Linked DNA regions of Homo sapiens: all the other regions are linked to region 3. The links are contacts of gene promoters, found by promoter capture Hi-C in human tissues and cell types (Jung and others, 2019). All regions are on one chromosome and are shown on one strand. Each heading gives the region's core, a stretch centred on a gene start or on the middle of the fragment in contact. The rest is flanking DNA. Distances are from core to core; before and after follow the strand shown. Region 1 has its middle 58 kb from the start of ZC2HC1A. Region 2 has its middle 17 kb from the start of MIR5708. Region 3 holds the start of STMN2 (stathmin 2).

Evidence for each region. Contacts are between HindIII fragments. The study calls those that stand out against the background at their distance.
Region 1: a fragment that was not itself captured here is called in contact with the fragment with the promoter of STMN2 in region 3 in 1 of the 25 tissues and cell types used here (dorsolateral prefrontal cortex).
Region 2: a contact is called between a fragment that was not itself captured here and the fragment with the promoter of STMN2 in region 3, in 1 of the 25 tissues and cell types used here (lymphoblastoid cells).

What each region holds. Positions count from the first base shown.
Region 1 is chr8:78,723,174-78,725,873 of GRCh38, reverse strand. It overlaps a transcript of IL7 not described here and the pseudogene C4orf46P3. Among named protein-coding and RNA genes, the nearest start is that of ZC2HC1A, 58 kb to the right of the region's middle. The HindIII fragment of the contact is 3,622 bases long and covers 1-2,700 here.
Region 2 is chr8:80,257,207-80,259,906 of GRCh38, reverse strand. No RefSeq gene overlaps it. Among named protein-coding and RNA genes, the nearest start is that of MIR5708, 17 kb to the right of the region's middle. The HindIII fragment of the contact is 4,365 bases long and covers 1-2,700 here.
Region 3 is chr8:79,609,829-79,612,528 of GRCh38, reverse strand. It overlaps STMN2 (stathmin 2), which reads right to left and starts at 1,412. Exons shown (of 5, transcript NM_007029.4): 1 at 1,315-1,412. The coding sequence starts at 1,333. The HindIII fragment of the contact is 1,951 bases long and covers 924-2,700 here.

The sequences.
Region 1 (2,700 bases), core at 104-2,603, 890 kb after region 3:
TCTAACATTATGTAATAAATAATTCATAACATTTACTGAGGCCTATTAAATGTCACAGATTGTGGCAAAGATTTTATACATGTTACTGATAATCCTCAAATTCATCCTGCAAGATACATATAATTATACTCAAAGCATACTTCTTAAATTCAGTCTGTGGTTATCTAACACTACGATTGGGTTAAGGAAGATGTCTTGTTTCAGTATATTGAATATTCTTTCCTGTAAAATATGATTTTAACACATCCCCCATTACTACAGCCACTGTAAAAGGAAAGCACAAGTTAGACCAAATTTGGTTGTTGAAGAGTTTTTGAGTGCAAACAGCAGATCCGAGTCTAATCAGTTTAAGCAAATAATAATAATAATAACTAAAAGCTATTGGGAAATGCATAGAATCTCTGGGAGAGCCAGATAGTCAAGTTTGGAGGCTGTTCAGCCAGAAACAATGCCCAAGTTATAATCACCAACTTGGCACTCTTTCTGGCTGAACAGCTCCAAACTTGGAGGGGAGGACAGTCAGTTAAAGTGCTACCATGGGGAACAGGCCACATGTTGCAATAAGGGTGTCACTTCTTGATGCTCTGCCACAGCTACCTTAGAAGCTCTGTGTCTCTCCACTAAACTCCACCATCCTCACTAGGAAATGGAGGCTGCAGTGTCCATTTCATATTATTTGTTTCAGAATCCAAGTCTGTTCAGTAGTTCCCAAGTCACATGAATACTCCCTCGCTGTAAGAAAGTATAGAAAACTATAAATTCTAGCTACAATTTTGATGCAGTGAGAGTTTCACCATGGAAAATTTGCCAAACATATGATTTTCAAAAGGTGCTAGCCACAATGATGACAAATGCCCATTACAGATAATAACAAAATTTAGATTTGAAATACATCACAAATCAAAATAATTTTTCACTAGAAGACAGGAGTTGGGCAGTGTTTTATATTGTCCAATGTTTTCTACTTAAAATATGGTATCTGAGCCAATAAACGATAAGACCTCTTCCTCCTTGAAAATAGCTTTCGGGTAATGACATCAGTGAGAAAAAATCTTTCTACTGATATAAGAGGGAGAAACATGACAGTGTTTACTAAAAGGGAACGGCATGAGAATAGACTGCCTCAGAGAGGGTATAAAGCTACTCTAGCATACAAGTTGCTTATTCAAATGGCGTTTTGATTTCATTGATAGTAAGACATATGGAAAAACCTATTTTTGAATTTTCAAATTAATAGTTAATTGAATAGCATGTTTCCAAAATGAATCACAGTTAAGGAATTAATGTTTAAAATAAAATTTTAAGTTCCTGATGTTTCTTGAAGAGTTTATGAGTTTTCCCTATAAGAAATATAAGTTTGAGAAGATAAGTAAAAATATATATTTTTAAAACTTTCTAGTTCTTAAAATGTTCCCCTTAACAATAATTAGGAGAAAAATAAAACTTTTTTAAAAAATTAAGCTTTAAATAGGCAAATATATGAAAACAGATCTAAATATTTCATACATATGTAGATATACAGAAATGTAAATATATATTCACCCAAGCCCAACAATAGCATGGCAACATACCTCTTAAATATTTAGATTAACTGTTTTTATTCTATGCTCTATGGAGTAAACCTTTGCTTGTATTACCTGGACTCTTAAAATCATAGGTGATAAAAAGAGAAAGAAAAAAGAACCTGTTTTAAAATGTCCTCTTGCTGGTTGGATTCTGAGCTCCTAGCTCTTCCCCATGGCTGACCTTGAGGAGTTGTGGGTTTCTTCACCAGCTCCCAGAACTTCCCTTTTCTTCCTCATCTTCAAACACCTTTTAGCATCTTTCCCACGCAACCAGTGAGTTTGGGCTGGCCAGTTCTGAGCAGGAACAAGGGCCAAATGGTAGACCTGCTGGAGAAAGTGGAGATGCAGATCAGAGATGCAGCATTTTCATTAACCAAATTTCTTGAGGTCACATCTGCAGTACCAGCTCAAGTGGAATAGCTTGTCTTCCAATGTACAGAAAATGCATGTTTCCTTAAAACCTGGCAGGACCTCTTGAAACAAGGCTATGATTCTTTGAAACCTGATGACTGATTTGGCATGCTTAGTTATTAATGATTGTGTAATAACTCATACTTCCTCATATATGATATTTGCATATGTACTACATGTATAGAATGATCTCTTCCCAGCAGTTCTGTATATACTCAGAATGAAATTTTTCTTGGTTTTCTTGGCCTTTGTGAAAGCAGAAGGCTGACGCTATTTTTGTTGCTGACCAGTACTTGTTTATCCATTAATATTTTCTGCCCTCTAAACTTTTGTATAATCCTTTATGAAAGTTAATTTCATCAGTATATAGTTAATATTAATAGTGCCAAAGTGCTACCAGTGGCAAACTAGGTAGATCGTTATTTATTTTCAACAAGATGCCAAGCATGTCAGAGTTTGAAGTTGAGCTTCAGCTTAAGTACAAACGGAGGTAATTTTAAGGTTGCCAGTGATAGATCCAGTTCCATTAGGTTTAGTTCTCTAGGGCTAATGATTGTTTCTGATTTATTTCTATATCCCTAGCACCTAAAACAGTGTCACACAATAGTCACTAAATGTTTATTGAATAAAAGAGTCGACAAACATAATTAAAAGCTATTTTTCTTCCTATATATAGCATGAAGATTGTAATTGCTTCTCTAGAAAATGTATGAATCCAAACTTT
Region 2 (2,700 bases), core at 125-2,624, 650 kb before region 3:
CCTGCACAGAGCCTGCTCCTGCAGGTGCCCAAGGTGGCCATGCCCCTGTTGAAAGTCTGATGAAGGGGTCGAGAAAAATCCTGCATCAACTCAGAGTTATTTATATATTCTGGATGGGAATTATTTTATCTGTCATAAGCATGCAAATATCTCTCTATAGTTTGTAGCTTGTCTTCTAACATTTTTCTTGGTGTTATTTCTTGTTAAGTTGTATAATTATTTATTGCTTTAAAAGCTTTAAAAAGGCAAGTAAAGCACAACATTAGAATTAATTAATTCTTTCTTTCTTTCTTTCTTTTTCTTTTTGAGACAGAGTCTCACTCTGTCCCCCAGGCTGGAATGTAGTGGCGCGATCTCAGATCACTGCAACCTCCACCTCCCAGGTTCAAGCGATTCTCCTGCCTCAGCCTCCCAAGTAGTTGGGATTACAGCTGTGTGCCACCACATCCAGCTAATGCTTTTGTATTTTCAGTAGAGACAGGGTTTCACCATGTTGGCCAGGCTAGTCTTGAACTCCTGACCTCAAGTGATCTGTCTGCCTTGGCCTCCCAAAGTGCTGGGATTATTGGCGTAAGCCACTGTGCCCAGCCTCTTTTCTTTCTTTTCTTCTTCTTCTTTTTTTGTTTTTTCTTTGAGACAGGGTTTCTGTCTTGTCACCCAGGCTAGAGTGCAGTGGCATGACTTTGGCTCACTGCAACCTCTGTCTCTTGCCATAGCCTCCTGAGTAGCTGGGACTACTGGCATGCACCACTGCACCTAGCTAATTTTTGTATTTTTGTAGAGACGGGATTTCACTATGTTGCCCAGGCCAGTCTCGAACTCCTAAGCTCATGTGATCTGCTCATCTCAGCCTCCCAAAGTGTTGGAATTACAGGCGTGAGCTGCCACATCCAGTCAGCATTTGTTTTCAAAAACTAAAAATGGATATTTAACTGGCAAATGAGTTGTTATGTTGTTAATTATTCTTTAATGTATTTTGTGATATTTCATAAAACAAAAATAAAAAACACCAAAGAAAGGTTTGATCCTCTTTCCCCTTTTCTCAGGCCCCAGAGCACAGCTACCCACGAAAACCCCCTTCTCTTAAACCTTCTTTAGTGAAGGCTATTGAACACAGGAGAAGAAAGCTGCATCTAAAAATGACTTGGAATTCTGGGGACATTCTTGGCTGAGACACCCAATCACAGGAACAGCCCCAGGCCTGGTTGTGAAAGAGGCTACTTGTCTCTGGGCGCCTCCATTCCTGAACCCCTACCCTGTCCTTTCAACATCTTCTCCCCCAGGCACCTGGCAGTCTCCTGGGACTCCCAAAGTCACCTCCCCCAGCACCAGACACACAGGAAATCCACAAAGGGAAGAGACTTACTGGAAGTAGGCTCAACCCCATAAAGATTTACTTTTTTTTTTTTAAGGATTTACATTTTGCAAGTATTTAGGGAGTGGGCAAAGAAAGACTAAAGAAACAGCCAAAGCTCCTGCGGGAGGGGTCTTTCTAAATAAAGCCTTCACAGAATGGCCAGGGGACTCCTCAGGAGGTCCTAACACTTCAAGACCCCATCTTGTTCAACATCGGAGCCCCAGTGGCAAGCCATTGCTTGGTAGGCACCATATATGTGTTGAATGAATTAAATGACTTGTTTTGTTCTGTGCCAGGCAGTGTGTGAGTCATTGGGAATATGTCAGTAAAGAAAACAGACAAAAATTCCTGTCCTCTGGGAACTGTTTCTCATCTATGTATGGAGGTGGGGGAAGGAGGATGAGGGTGCTGAGGACTATCAACGAAATAAGTACATTTCTATTAAATTGATATTATACAGTAAGTACTTTGGGAAGAAAAGAAAGAAAGGAAGGAAGAAAGAGAGAGAGAGGAAGGAAGGAAGGCCGGCCAGAATTTGCAAGTGAAGGAGTGGAGGAGTGAGCTTTGAGGCTACATAGGGAACAGGGACAGCAAGGTGATGAATTCCCCTCACCCTTCAACATTTCTTGTCATTTCAAGACCAAATCTTTCAAGTTCTAAGAATACATTATGTGAAACCCTTCTCTACAAGAAGTACAAAAATTAGCTGGGCATGGTGGTGTGTGTCTGTAGTCCCAGTTACTCAGGAGGCTGAGGTGGGAGGATTACCTGAGCCCAGGGAGGTCAAGGCTGTGGTGAGCTATGATTGTGCCACTGTACTCCAGCCTGGGCAACAGAGTGAGACCCTGCCTCAAAAAAATAAAAAACATTATGCTGTTTCTCGCTTCAGTAGTTTGCATATACTGTTCCCTTTGCCTGATATTTACCTCCTGTCTTTTCCACCTGGCCAATTCCTATGTGTCCTTCAAGATCCATTTCAGATGCCACCCTCTCAGTGCCTGGAGGGAGAGGTAAATTGTTACTACCTTTGTACTCCCATAATACTTTGTTGACTTCTTACTAGAAGCTCTCAGTACCTCTCCTGAGTCACATGTGTTTGTAGAACTCTTACAACAAAGGTAAGCTATTACTATCATCACAGCTTTTAGACATATGAGAAAACAGGTTGTAACAAGTTAAGTAACTTGTCTCAGGTCATCGGCTGGATTTGGAAGGCTGGACTTTAAGGTCAACAACCCAGGCTCCAAAACAGAGCCCTTCCTATGATTCCAGGAGCCCCACCTGGCATTGGGTGAATTACATTTAAATTAGAATTTTCTGCTGCATTGTGATCAACTTGAGGA
Region 3 (2,700 bases), core at 163-2,662:
TATGAAATTGCCGATATTTGGCACTGTCTGACCCACAAAACGGAAATTTCGCGTGGCTTAACTTAAGACTTTGACCTCTTTTGCTTTATATACGATTTCATGTCATCTCTATTATTATACATACACATGTCTAGGTTCTAGAAGCTTTTCCCGCAAACGATCAAAGGTCTTCAAAGAACCCTTTATCTGTGTCTATGTCTAAACACTCTATGTAATTTGCTTCCGAAAAGAAAAATGTTAACCCACTTTTCCCATCTCTCTTAAAAGCAGAACAATGAGGCCAGCGTGGGGAGGGCGGGGTCAGTGGTCAGGTCTCTCTTGGAAGCCGCGGCGGGGAGTCGGGAGCGGGGAGCGCGGGGCGTGGCGCCGCTGTCCCCGCAGGGTTGGGCTCCTGGGTGTCACGCTGCGCTCCCCACCCGACCCCCTTTCGAATGAAGATGCAGCACCGGGCGGGGGGGCGGGGCTGCGCGGTTCCGCACTGGGTGGGGCTGTCCGCATTGTGCGCCCAGCGCTGCAGGTGCCTCCCCCCGGGACCGCTGGTCCGCACACAAAGAAACCCCACCCCAGCGCCTTCGAAGCCGCTGTCCCTCCACCCCTCCCTGCCGCGCGCTTCCCCGCCCCTGCAGCTGCCCACCCGCGCCCTCCACGCCCTCCGCGACTTCCTCTCTCCTTCCCCTCCCTTGCCCTAAAACAAAGGAGCGGAGGTCCTACCCCCACCCTGTCCCCCGCCGTCTTACCTCCCTGCACCGCACCCCAGGACTAGCGGTTTCTTCGACGAGACAATACCGTAAAATGTGCCCAGTTCTCTCCATCCCCTCCCCCCGTCTCCACCCATCTTTCAAACAGCGGGATGGGACCGCTTTGACTTTGCAATTTTCTTTTTCCTTTCTCCCACCTTCCCTTTACCCCTTTCCTATTTTCTTCTTAAACTAGAGAAGAAATAAAAAAAAAAAAGGTCGTTATAAAGCACTTTCCAAAATGTCCCTTAAGCCCATTTAAGGCAAACAGTTAAGGTAGCTTCCTCCCCTCACGATTGAGTCCTAATTTTAAATATGGAAACAGAATAAATTCTCTACCCATAGGAGGGCAACTTACCCGCTTCTACCTTTTAAAAGAAATTCTTCGCTTTAGATTTCCATAGACCTCTTCTCTGCCCTCCCACCTCCCCCAGAACTGCCCTGTCCTTCCTGGTCCTGTGTTACCATTAACATCTTTTTCTTTATAAAATATCTCTGAATGCTTCTAGAGCTCAAGAGAGGAGGTGAGAGGTGGGCTCCAGGTAGAGCCGACGGAGAACGAGGCGCAGTGCCTTACCCATTGCTGTTTTAGCCATTGTAGGGATGTGCAGACGCTGAGCAGTGGCGAAGGCAAAGGGTCCGGCTACAGCAGCGGAGAGAGCGAGAGAGAAGACTGAATAAGGCACTGAGTCTGCAGAGTGGGACCGTGCTAGAGAAAGAGCAAGAGGCAGGAGCCCATGAATAATTATCACTCAGAAGCTCAAGCAGATTGGCTCCCAAGGTCCCCTGACATGACTCCCGCAGAGTCAGAATCTCCAAGCATTAAATATTGATCGGCCAATGGTGCTGGAGTACAAAGTACCAGAATGCAGTTTGAAATGGAAATCAGTCCTTCCCTGTCGGCTCCCCCCATTTTGGGGGCCTGATAGTACAGTCCAAGTAGAGTGGAGCTTTAAGCCCTGAAGCTTCCTAGGAGCTAAGAACTGGGCTGTGCCTACCTGGGAGCCAGGAGGCTTGACTTTGCTCATACATGTGCCATTGCACAATTCAATGGAAAAGGATTCAGAAGCTTGAGAAGTCCTCACTATATGCAGGCTGTTGGAAAATTCTGTTTAAATACTGTGTTTTCACTTTTTCATATTTTCTTTCACCTTTGGCTCTGTCCTTGGTTCTAGTCTTTCAGGGCTACCCTATGTCTGGCTATGGTGGCAGCTCAGAGCAGACTTGCATTATTGTCCTTTATCTTTTAGCACAGCTGGACTTAGGCGTCTCTAAACTCTTGAAGGTCTCTCAGGAGAGGGAAGCATGGTGTTTTCTTCCCTTGGCACAGAGGAAGGGGCTACCTGGTTGCTTGGGAATAGGGATGGTAATAATGGTCCACCTGGGGACATGGGGGAAGAGGAAGAAAGTTTAACCTCTGGTGCCTGTGTCCTGTCCATTTGTTAACACGGCAGAAAACAGGTTGGCTGGCTGGTTTGGGCATTAAGGAAACCACAGGTGAATGCCATGTTGCCCTGAAGGTGTAGGATTAAGTGGGTCAAAATTTTAGTAACCTTTCCAGGGCTCTAAGGAGAATGCTTTACATGGAAAACTTAGAAGAGATGAAAGGTGTGGTCTGGGTCATTATTTTTCTGAGATCCAGAGAGACTACGTTTATGTAGGCCCAGGAAGGCTGTGTTCAAGTTTCGGATTGAGCAATGTCGTATGTGAGGATCTTTGAGACTAGTTGCAAAAAATGACTTTCATTACAAACAAGGCATTTATTAGTTCCTCCTTCTCACTTAATGGATGCCAGTCATTCATTTGTTCTCTTTCACTTGACTTAAATATGTATTGAGCATTTACCATGTGCACAGCTCTGAAAATGGTGAGAAAAAGTTTAGGAGTTGCTGCATGAAGTTTTTAATTACTGCTAATTTAACTCTTCTGTAACTTTATTGAGCCAGTCTAATTCCATGCAGAA